2 separate regions of the Homo sapiens genome follow, and region 1 is linked to region 2. Evidence: promoter capture Hi-C in human tissues and cell types (Jung and others, 2019). All regions are on one chromosome and are shown on one strand. The core of a region is centred on a gene start or on the middle of the fragment in contact, and the rest is flanking DNA. Distances in the headings are between cores, read along the strand shown. Region 1 overlaps BCAS3 (BCAS3 microtubule associated cell migration factor). Region 2 holds the start of TBX4 (T-box transcription factor 4).

Region 1 (6,041 bases), core at 1,582-4,081, 370 kb before region 2:
TCTGTTTTTCCACTGCATGGAATGAAGTGGTTTAAATCTATTTTCTTTCTCCTATAGTGGTTCCCCCTGGAAGTCCTGGGCCCATTACTCGACATGGGTCTTACGACAGTTTAGCTTCTGACCATAGTGGACAGGAAGATGAAGAATGGCTTTCCCAGGTAAAACTCTGAAATATTGAGAGTATTAAAGTAAAATAAAACAGAAATTTACTGTTTTTATTCTTTTCCTTAGAGGTAAAAGGGGAGAATTGGTAACTCTTTATTGGATTATCAAGAATTAGTTGTCTTTCCATATTACAAATTACTCCACAAATATTGCTGCAGGTGTACATATACATATTATATATACATTATACGTGTGTGTATATATATATATGTTAGCTTCCATAAACATGGCATAAAATTTGTGTATTTTTCACACAATCCATTTAAAGCCTTAGGGCCTTGGAATCAATTAATTTATTAATTTTTGAGACAGAGTCTTGCTCTGTCACCCAAGCTGGAGTGCAGTGACACGACCTTGGCTCACTGCAACCTCCAATTCCTGGTTTCAAGCGATTCTCATGCCTCAGCTTCTTGAGTAGCTGGGATTACAGGCATGCACCACCATGCCTGGCTAATTTTTGTATTTTTAGTAGAGAAGGGGTTTCGCCATGTTGGCCAGGTTGGTCTTGAACTCCTGACTTCAAGCAATCCACCCTTCTTGGCCTCCCAAAGTGCTGGGATTACAGACGTGAGCCACTGTGGCCAGCCAGGAGCTTGGAATTTAAATAGGCTCTTTGGAACACATTTTCATCAGGTTTAAAATAAAAGTTGACCTTGATGAAACAGTGAAGCCACTCAGCAATCTTTGGGATTTGTTTTGTGGAGCCAACATTTTCCGAAGATTGAGTTCATACTTTCATTATTGGAAATATAACATTCCACCCTGCAGAAATTCTGATGGTGCCTTGGTTTCCTTTCCTAAGCCCATGTAATGCTGCTTTTAGTGGTCTCTAAGCCAGCCCTACAACATTGCTGGGACTGCAGGCACGCATCACCATGCTGGCTAATTTGTTTTTTTTGTTTGTTTTTTAATGTAGAGACAGGATCTCCCTATGTTGCTTAGGCTGGTCTTGAACTCCTGGGCTCAAGCAATCCTCCTGTGTTGGCCTCCCAAAGTGCTGGGATTACAGGCAAGAGCCACCATGCCCAGTCTCCAACAGCTTCACTGACCATCCCTCCCCTTGCCAGGTGAAGCTGTCTTCATCTCAAGGGCTTTGAAATAAAAGATACTTGGGCAGATGTCAAAATGATGGGATTACAAATGACTTCATTACAAATGCTGTTATGTCTGCCTCAAGTCTGACATCATTTTATGAAGCTAATGACCTATCTCAGGTTACCAATCTGACAGCTTTTCATCGGACAGGTGCCTCAAAAATGTGGAGGCCATTTGTAGTTTCATTTCTTTCTCAAGGAGGGTAGCCTGAAAACTAAAGTCTGGAAAATCAAAAGTAAAGTAAACTGGAAAATCAAGCAGTGTCTAGGTAACATGTATTTATTTCATCACACCAAAAATATTCACAGGAAGTTCCTTGAAGGAAGTTGATTCTTCAGTTCCTGGCATGTGGCGGTCCATCCTTTCTTAATGTTAGGAAGATAAAGTAAACCCCAAATGTGTGTTTTTTCCAAAATCAAAATGTTGTCCAAGGAATGCTGGCAGAGAAACCACTGTCCTTCACTTCAACTTTTCAATTAGAAAAAGGGGTAATGTGTGCTGTCAGTGTGAAAGTATATACAATGTGTTTGTCCGGCACACAACAGGAGAGTGAATAGGAACATCTGGCCATCGCCTCGGTGAAATTGAACAGGCATCTGTTTACCTCTGGGCTCTGTGACACTGATGGTTTTGAGCTTAAAGTACACAGAATGCTTTATCTGTGGCCTAATTTACATTGCTGAATACAACTACTTGAATCAGAAATCACTGTCCTCAATCTGAGCATTTTTCTCCCTGTGATTAGTAGGAATGTGAATATTGTTCCAAAGACCATGATGCTTTTGCCCTTTTGGACTCACACAGGGCTACACTCTGTGAACCTTTTCAGTTATGTTTTGTTAAGAATTAATCACCACAATCAGAGAAATGTGATTAAATATAAAAGAACTCAGGACAAAAATAAGGCATGTGGGAAGTCAATTACATAAAGTATTTGCACAGGCATGAATGTACCATTGACAAGACATTTAAACTAGTTTGTATATTTAGTCTCTCATTCGAGTTGATTATTTGTAAAAAAAAAAAAAAATCATGTAATATATATATTTTCAGGTTTTTCCAAGTGTCTTCTACCCACTTCTTTGACTTTATAATGTTTAATAAAGTATTGGCGGCCGGGCGCAGTGGCTCACGCCTGTAATCCCAGCACTTTGGGAGGCCGAGGCAGGCGGATCACCAGGTCAGGAGACCAAGACCATCCTGGCTAACACGGTGAAACCCCGTCTCTACTAAAAATACAAAAAATTAGCCGGGCGTGGTGGCGGGCGCCTGTAGTCCCAGCTACTGGGGAGGCTGAGGCAGGAGAATGTAGTGAACCCAGGAGGCGGAGCTTGCAGTGAGCGGAGATCACGCCACTGCACTCCAGTCTGGGCAACAGAGCGAGACTCCGTCTCAAAAAAAAAATGAAATAAAATAAATAAAATAAAATATTGGCAACATTCCCTATCCCCCCCATTGAGCGTGAAATTCATAAAGCATTTTGGTATTACTGTTTTGTAGCACATCAAATGCCTGTGTCGATATTTGTGGCAGTTGAGAAAACACACTAATTAATGGTATTTGGAAGACAAAAATCTAGTTTGAGAGAAAATATATAATAATGTTTTCATTTAAAAGTGGATTGGGGTAATATTAGGGCAGTATAATAAATATTATAATATTTTATTGTGGAAATAAAGTGGCTTTGGGCATTAAAATTATTTCAGACCTTTACTTTTCCTTGGATGGTTCAAGAACAACTTCACGTTTGTCATAAGCTTGATCCTCAGTGAAGGAATTGCTTTTAATCTGTGGATTAATAGGTGTAGTATTCAGTGCATGCCCACAACATGGTAAGTACTGTCTAGAATGAATGAAAAGGTAGACCCTACGGAGCTGACACTAGTTATATGAGGCAAGCAACTGGTCCTTTTACTTTCATGTGATTTTTGTCTTGTATATGTGTGTGAGGTGTGCATGTGTGTCTGTGTATGTATATGTACACAAAATGTATTTTTGGCTTATGTTGATGAAAAGCAGTAGAGGGATATTTTGAATGTCTACATCAGCTGTGATTATCATCACCTTTTAATTATGGGTGTCCTATCCCTTTGCCACTTTAACATGGGCTTCTTGAAGAATGTGGGTGTTAAGAGGAAGAATGGGGGATTGTGAAGTCTCTCAAATCAGGATCACAAACCATTTAAATCATCATTGCTACTCCATTCCAGGTTGAAATTGTAACACACACTGGACCCCATAGACGTCTGTGGATGGGTCCACAGTTCCAGTTCAAAACCATCCATCCCTCAGGCCAAACCACAGTTATCTCATCCAGTTCATCTGTGTTGCAGTCTCATGGTCCGAGTGACACGCCACAGCCTCTTTTGGATTTTGATACAGATGATCTTGATCTCAACAGTCTCAGGTAGGAAATGAGAATTAGGGAGTGATTTGAACAAAAGGATTAATATGTTCGTGTGAAATGAGCATCATATGTAATATTTAGGTTTCCCCTTTTGGCACAGTATCATGTTGCAGACTACATGTACTGTTGCACGTAATTCCCTGTCATTACTTGAGATGGTATATAGGGTCTCGTGGGATCACATTACGTGCAATAAATACTTGCTTTTCAGATTATATTCTCCCTAAATCTAATAGTCACTGCACTTTTCAAGCAATTCCACTTTTTGATGCTTTGCTTATATTTCTAACTGCTTGAATCTGATTATGTATTCTTTTCCTGATCTTTCTGAAGTTGGCACCACCTTTCAATTAAATTTCATCTGTGATTTTTATCTAATCCTGTATCTCCCTTCTTTTAGATTATATAAAGTTTTTGGATGGAAAAACGTTGGTATAAATTCAATTATAGTTTATCTTCTATATTTTTATAATACATGTTCTCTCATCCTTATTTGTAGGAATCCTAGGACAGGTGTACAAATTATGCTTTTTATTATTAGCTTTTTTTTTTAATTGCAACTCAGACAGTTTTGACTTGCAGTCTCAAGTTTGCTTAGCAGTTTAATTTGTTATACCAAGACTTGACACATTAGGGTGCAACAGATAATGAAGGACTCAGTCTAATGTAATATAATCTCCCTTTTCTTGTCTTCTCTTTAAAAAAAACTCTATAGTATATCTTGAATTGAATATAAAACAACCCTCTGACCTTTTTCTTGCACACCTTTTAAAAAATAGTGGGAAAAAATGTTCCAGTTACATAGTGGAAATACGTTTTTGTCTTCTTTGTCAGTAACAATAAAAAATTTTTATAACAAGATGAAAATTGTTGCAAAGTTGGATTATGCCTGATGTATCTGTTTAGAAAATATGACACATATTTACTGAGTACCTGCCAGGAGGTGCCAGGAGATAAGCCTAGAGTACGGCCGGCTGCCTACTTGGGTCTGAATTGCAACTCTTCATCTCACTCCCTAATCCTGCTCTCACCCCTATTCTTTGTCATCTCTATTTTATTTTATTTATTTTTTATTTTATTTTTTGAGACGGAGTCTTGCTCTGTCACTCAGGCTGGAGTGCAATGGTGTGATCTCTGCTCACTGCAACCTCTGTCTCCTGGGTTCAAGCAGTTCTCCTGCCTTAGGCTCTTGAGTAGCTGGGATGACAGGCGCCCGCCACCAGACCCAGCTAATTTTTGTATTATTAGTAGAGACGGGGTTTCAACATTTTGGCCAGGCTGGTCTTGAACTCCTTACCTCAAGTGATCCTCCCGCCTTGGCCTCCCAAAATGCTGGGATTACAGGCATGAGTATTTTTTTTTTTTTTTTTTTTTTTTTTTGAGACTGAGTCCCACTCTGTCACCTGGGCTGGAGTGCTGTGGTGCGATCTCAGTTCACTGCAACATCTAGAATGTATTCTAGCCTCCTGTATTCAAGCGATTCTCCTACCTCAACCTCCTGAGTAGCTAGTATTACAGGTATGTGGCACCACGCCTCCCTAGTTTTTGTGTTTTTAGTAGAGATGGAGTTTCACTATGTTGGCCAGGCTGGTCTTGAACTCCTGACCTCAGGTGATCTGCCCGCCTCTGCCTCCCAAAGTGTGGGGACTACAGGCGTGAGCCACTGCACCTGGCCTCATCTCTTTAAATTACTCCACAAACTACCTACTCAAGACAGAATCTAGAGGTTATCCTTGAAATCTCTCCTTTCACAGATGCCACATCTAATTCTTCACCAACTTATGTCATTTCTATTCAAAATACATCTAGAAACCTTCCACTCCTCTCCATTCCTAATGCCAGCACCCTAGCAACATCTCACAGACTCCTAACTGCTGTCCCTTTTTACATTTTTGCTTTCCCCTGACTGATGTATCTTCTTAAAGAATGATTCAGCCAGGCGTGGTGGCTCACGCCTGTAATCCCAGCACTTTGGGAGGCTGAGGAGGGTGGATCATGAGGTCAGGAGTTCGAGACCAGCCTGGCCAACATGATGAAACCCCATCAAAACCCTACCAAAAAAATACAAAAAATACAAAAAATTAGCCGGGCATGGTGGTGCACACCTGTGATCCCAGCTACTCGGGAGGCTGCGGCAGGAGAATTGCTTGAACACAGGAGGCGGAGATTTCAGTGAGCCGAGATCGTGCCACTGCATTCTAGCCTGGGCAACAGAGTGAGACTCCGTCTCAAAACAACAAACAAACCAACACACAAAAAAAGAACGATTCATCAAGAAGAATGTATCTTCTTTTAATACCTTGTTTAGTATTTTTTGTTTACTCTGCTTTGTATTTTGTTTTTTTCTTCTCTGCATTTTTTTTGTTCCAGCATA
Region 2 (5,934 bases), core at 2,734-5,233:
CTCCTGCCTTGGCCCCCTGAGTAGCTAGGACTACAAGCGGCGCCACCATGTCCGGCTTTGGCTCTACTCACAGAGATTCTGACTCAGTTGGTCTGGGTTAGAGCTTGGCATTGGTATTTATTAAGTGCTCCAAAAACCTAATTTTTTTAAAAAATTGTAATTGCTTTTCACTACACTATGGTGCCAGCTCATCCTCCACCAAAAGGTCATCCTCAACCAAAGCCACCCCAGGCTCTAGGGAGCCACCCTACTGTGCTGACTGGCATCCCCAACTTATCCTGTAGCCCCTGCTGTCTCTGAGATTGATTATTTAGGTGATTAATTACTCAGCTTGCAGGTCATTCATTAATGAATTTGCTGTTAGTGATGGGTTAGTCAAGTAGTTGGGTAACTAACAGAATGGTCAGTTGGCCTTTCCTCCTGTTTGTGTGTCTAACACATAGTAAGCATTTGATATTTCTTTGGATGAATGAATCCATAAAATAGAGAAAAAAATGGAGTTAATACAGTATCAAATGAGATGGCAGCTGTGAAACCACTTTGTAAATGGTAAAACACTGTACGATATAACAATAAACATTTACATTAGAAACTACTTTTATTTTTTCTTTATTTTTAAATTTTATTTATTATTATTATTTTTGAGACAGACTCTCACTCTATCATCCAGGCTGGAGTGCAATGGCACTATTTCGGCTCACTGAAACCTCTGCCTCCCAGGTTCAAGTGATTCCCCTGCCTCAGCCTCCAGAGTAGCTGGGACTACAGGCATGCGCCACCATGTCTTGCTAATTTTTGTATTTTTAGTAGAGACAGTGTTTCACCATGTTGGCCAGGCTGGTCTTGAACTCCAGGCCTCAAATGATCCGCCTGCCTAGGCCTCCCAAAGTCCTGGGATTATAGGCATGAGCCACTGCGACCAGCCGAGAAACTACTTTTTAAAATTTAGGGCCAGGACAAAGTCTGTTCCTTCACCATTCACCAAAGAGTTACTGTTTCCACATTTCTGATATAGAGAACTACCATGTTGCTCTGCTGGCTCATAAGCCAGATTTTATTCTCAATTATAGCAACTTTGTCAGCACTTAGTGATAGCATATATGCTTACTCCTTTTTCCTTGATCCTAATGTGTTTTTCTACTTGTGTTTTTATTAGCTAATTCTGGTTATAAACCACCTCAAGCCTTTTGCGGAAAAGAGAAAAGTAGAATAAATTTTTAAAATACTTGGGAGCTAGCCTTTATCAACCATGCATTAATATAGGCAATCCTCACAATAAGCTAGTAGGTTGGCGTAATTATCCCCATTTTATATGAGCATTAATGAACTTGCCCAAGGTCACATAGCTGCAAAATGGTGAGCCAGGAATCAGAGCTAGGTTTCAAAACCAAGGTGAGCCTGCTACCAAACCTGAGCACTTTCCCCCAAGCCAACCCAAATCAGTGTGACCGATGTGTGGCACCGTCAGTTATTTGTTTAGCTAGTTGAGGAGGGTTTTCATATTTTGAACTCCTCAAAGTAGTTTTGGAGAAAAAAAAATTGGTCTTCTCCTCTTCTACACAGGCTCTTTTTCAGCAAATACTATGCAGCATCCATTATAAGCTTTTCTATTATTTTACATACGACTAAGAAGAAAAAACGCTGCTAATTAAGCTATGACACACCGCTAGCTATCAGATGCATCTCAGTTTCAGAGATACCAGAATGTGAAAAATGTGTGTCTTAGAGTCAGTTAAATGAGGTATTCCATTCTAATAATGGGGAATGTGCATACAGAACCGCTCTCATTTACTCACTTGCTGGCTGGTTTGCCCCTTCCTTTTTACTGCCAAAAGCTTACCTGTCCCTTCCATATCTCATTTCTCCATGTCATCATGAACCTGTTGATATTAATTTAGACTGTCTGCCATCAGTCTCCAGAAAGCCTTGCACTTATAGGAAGGTTCCAGTCTAGTTTGTTTGTTTTTGTTTGTTTGTTTTATTAAAGAACTATACGATACGATCTCAGTATGAACTTCCTCCAATGACTGTCAACAAATTCTTTCCAGAGTCTGGCCTAGCTCTAGTCTTCCCATAGTACCTGGTGATTCACTGCCCTCCCTGTTCACCATTCCACACAGTAGTTGGTTGCTTAGTCTGTATACTATTTATTTGCAAGGGATTTCCCTACAGGCTGTTGGAGAGGTCATGGGAGGGGGCTTGCGAGCAGAAGCTGAGGCATGTCATCCAGGTCTCCCTAACACAGGAAACACGACTCCCCAGGCATCTCCTGAAACGCCAGGGCCTTCCCTTTCTCCATTCCAGGAGTCCGCAGGTTTGGGGAAGGATTCTGCTCCTCCACTCCTCTTAGATATTATTTCCCCTCCCTGGTTTGAGACTCCATGAGAGGAATGGTGATAGGGTGGTGGGACCTGGTACTGCAATGGTGATAGGGACTTGAGCAGCGGCCCACTGTTGAGGTGGATTTCAGGCTCCTGACAGCAGCAGCGACTGGCTTTTCTGAGTTGGCGTTTTTGCTTCCACCTTTGAGTGCAGGGTGGTAAAGAAGGCATTGATGCTGGCTTTCCATTTCCTAGCATTAGAACAGGGACAGACCCATCCAGGAAAAGAATTTCCCTGTCCTCTCCCCTTCAAGCTGATTTTGAGGTCAGAATCTGGAAAGGGACAGAGGCTGGTTGAGGACACTGGTGGAGGGAGGGATGCAGCCCATGCTAAGCACTAAGGGACCACTCTGGGGATCCTTATTGATGAGGATTCTGCTGTCTTTGCAGATGGGTGGGCAGGCCTATTTCTGCCCCAGGATTCTGGGCATGTGACAGGCGGGGAGGCTGGGGCACGGGCTGGGGTCCGCATGGGTCCGTCTGCTAGTGGAAAGGCAGCGTCCTGTGGGAGGTACAGACAGAGAGAAACAGAGGTAAGTGGAGACAGAGAGCTCAGAGGCTGGGCAGGGAGGTCTAGGTGCTGAGCGGGACTCCGTTTCTGAGGCGGAAAGAACCGGGTGGCTGGGAGCAGGACGCTCCCCAGTCTCCACTTCCTAGACTAGGGCAGGCATTGGGCTTCCTCTTCAGCTCTCCAGGATCTCAAGGAGCTGCCGCGGAATCCTGGCCCTGGGCCGCAGTTTCCCCAGGAGGCTCTGCCAAGCCTGGCACCTTGCAGCCCGGCCTGGGCTCTGTCAAGGCCCGAGCCGGACTCGGCTCCACTCAGAGGCCGGCCCAGCACTTCCCTGCCGCCGCCGCCCCGCACCCGGCCACCGGGCTTCCTCCCAGTCCTCACCCCTGACCTCCGCGGCCGACTTCGAGGCGCGCCAGGCCGGGTCCAGCGCCCGCGGCCCCCTGGGCCGGGACAAGGAGGGCGGGTGAGCAGAAGGGCCGTGCCCAGGGCCTGGAAGTGCAAGGCCGCGTGGTGGGCATGGTAGGGAAGCGGAGCGTGGGCCTGTGAGGCGCGTGTGCGCCTGCGACCTCGGGACCGGGGCTCCCAAATGAACAGCGCGCACAGCTGGGAGCAGGGCTTGGGGAGCGGGGCTCTGCGGCCGGGGATCCGTAGAAGCCGCTGCCTGGAAGCGGGCGCCGGCAGGGGGTGGCCAGACCCGGTCGTGGAGCGTCCTAGTCTTCGGGCACGGCGGGGCCAGGCGAGCCCTCCTGGTTGTCGAGCCTCGGCTGAGAGCCGGGCTGCTCGCCCTTGCTTCCCGCCTCTCTAATCTAAACCATGCGGGGCTCCCAGCCCCTACCCGGCTCGCGGGGCCCGAGGGCCAAGAGGAGGGCACTGGGCCGCGCGGTGGAGGAGCCGGCGGCTCGCGTGGGGCTCGGGATCTTGGGGACCGCGACGCCGGGGAACCCTGGAGCCCCCCTCCCCGGGGGACAGCGGGCGCAGACTGATTGACAGCGGCGACGTCAGCGCGGAGGGGGGGCGGCCCCAGAGGGAGGGAGGGAGGAGGAGGGAATTGAGGCCCCAAAGTGCAGCCTTGGAGATCAAGGGCCCGCTCCAGAGCCGGGATGTGTCCAGCCCCGAGGGCACGGCAGGCAGCTGGACCCTGACCCAGCGGCGCGGAGTCGGAGCCCCGGCCGTCCCGCGCTCCTCGGACCCGAACCTGCAGGGGACCTCGGGCCGCTGGCGCCTCCGCATGCGGCACCGCAATTAGGGTGAGTGTGGGTTCCAGCCGAGTGGGGACGAGCTGGGCGTGCGGGGCTGGGGCCACAGGGGCTCAGGGTTAGGCTGCGGGGACGGACAGGAGGATGAGCTGGAAAGGGGTGAGTCACGCGACCCGGGGAAGAACTTCAGGGGCGGTCAAAGTTGCAGGAAGGCGGCGCGAAGTGCCTTGGGTCGGGCCGCCGCCTCGGCCCGACACCCAGTAGTTGGGGCACGAGCCCTCCTCTCTGAGTAACGCGATGAATTGGGTCTAGAGATCCAAGAGCATAGAAATATCGACAGCGCCAGCACCCTAAGAACAAGGCCGTGACAGGCGGAGCGGTGGCCTGGAAATTGGTGTTTGCAGAATATGCAAGGCCAAGGAAGAGGGCCCCGGTACTGGAGCGAAAATCCGTGTAGATATGTGAGTGATCAGAACACTAGACTCAGAGCCTTTGATGCAATAGACTAGTCAAAATTAAAGCAAGGAACATTATATATAAATAATGATCGATGATTAAAGATTATTGGAATGTGAACAATTACCAAAGAAAGGGCTAATCGGCATAACTGATATAACACGTGAACTTCCAAATAATACAATCATAGTCACTTTCAGAATCAAGTGAAAATAGTAATCACAATTTTTAAAAGGATTAAAGACAAAGTAATTCTAAATAGAGGAACAATGTAAGGACTGTTTATTAAAACCAATTGCACTAATATAACATATAGTAATAGTGTAACAAATTACCAAACTGTAGGAAACTAGCAAACGAACTGTAGGAGAAAGATGAACAATGAAAATACTATTAAGGGAAATACTATTAGTGGTAGTGATATAATAATATAATGTATTATTGATACTACAGTGAACTATTAAAAGAAATATTAACTAAAATCTTAGGAGCAATAGTAATATAAATAAAGACATATTAACAAGAATTGCTGGAGTAATATGACAATTTATGACCAATGTATTAATAGTCACAAGAACATTATAAATAATGGTTGAGTAATAAGAAGTATTGTACCAATGTGATGAAAAATAATCAGAGTATTAAGAGCTACAACAATATTACAAAGTATGACAAAATAACAAGAAGTAATGATGTGATGAGTAACTAGCGAGTTCAGATCTGTAACATTACAAATAATGACAAAGTAACAAGATACTGTCGGGGTGTGTTGAAGAATAATACCTGGAGTGTTATGAGCAAGCCTAACAAAACAAATTGTGGTTAGATAACAAGAAGTATTATAAGGATGTGAGGGAAATTAACATGAATTTTGAGAACAATTATATAACAAGTTATGGTAAACAAGAAGTTATTGAAACAGCGTGACAAAGTATAATCAAAATGAAGAGCAAGCAACGGAAACGTATTAGGGATACAAAGCAAGAATAAAAAATTACAATAGATTAACGTGACCTATTGTTCACTATGTCACCTCGATATTGGAAATAGTATTATGAATGTGCCAGGCGGCCCTGAAATGATGGAACAGTGACAGGAAAACAACAAATTTAGTAACAGTAAGCTAACGAATCAAAGCAGGGCTTTAACCATACAGTATTAAAGATACAAAGTAGTAATAATCCACGCGATAGGATATTCTCAAAGTTCCCGAACTGATCAAAATACTACTATGGTAATAAGGACAATTAAAATATTTTAAAAAGCACGAAATAGTAACAGTTCCCCTAGTGCAAGAAACATATCCCCAGTAACCTAAAAATGAAAAGAGAAATGCTGTCGTCTTTGGAAAACGAGGCAGCTGAAAGCAACAGACCCCATCGCAAAGGCA

Evidence for each region. Contacts are between HindIII fragments. The study calls those that stand out against the background at their distance.
Region 1: a fragment that was not itself captured here is called in contact with the fragment with the promoter of TBX4 in region 2 in 1 of the 25 tissues and cell types used here (mesendoderm cells).

The regions. Positions count from the first base shown.
Region 1 is chr17:61,074,863-61,080,903 of GRCh38, forward strand. BCAS3 (BCAS3 microtubule associated cell migration factor) reads left to right here. Exons shown (of 24, transcript NM_017679.5): 20 at 58-158; 21 at 3,471-3,667. The region is part of intron 2 of BCAS3-AS1 (BCAS3 antisense RNA 1); the gene reads right to left. Among named protein-coding and RNA genes, the nearest start is that of BCAS3-AS1, 58 kb to the right of the region's middle. The HindIII fragment of the contact is 4,126 bases long and covers 769-4,894 here.
Region 2 is chr17:61,448,439-61,454,372 of GRCh38, forward strand. It overlaps TBX4 (T-box transcription factor 4), which reads left to right and starts at 3,984. Exons shown (of 9, transcript NM_001321120.2): 1 at 3,984-4,139. It overlaps LOC124904042 (a long non-coding RNA gene), which reads right to left. Exons shown (of 2, transcript XR_007065872.1): 2 at 4,804-5,934. RefSeq lists enhancers at 3,954-4,795, 5,596-5,934. The HindIII fragment of the contact is 13,471 bases long and covers 1-5,934 here.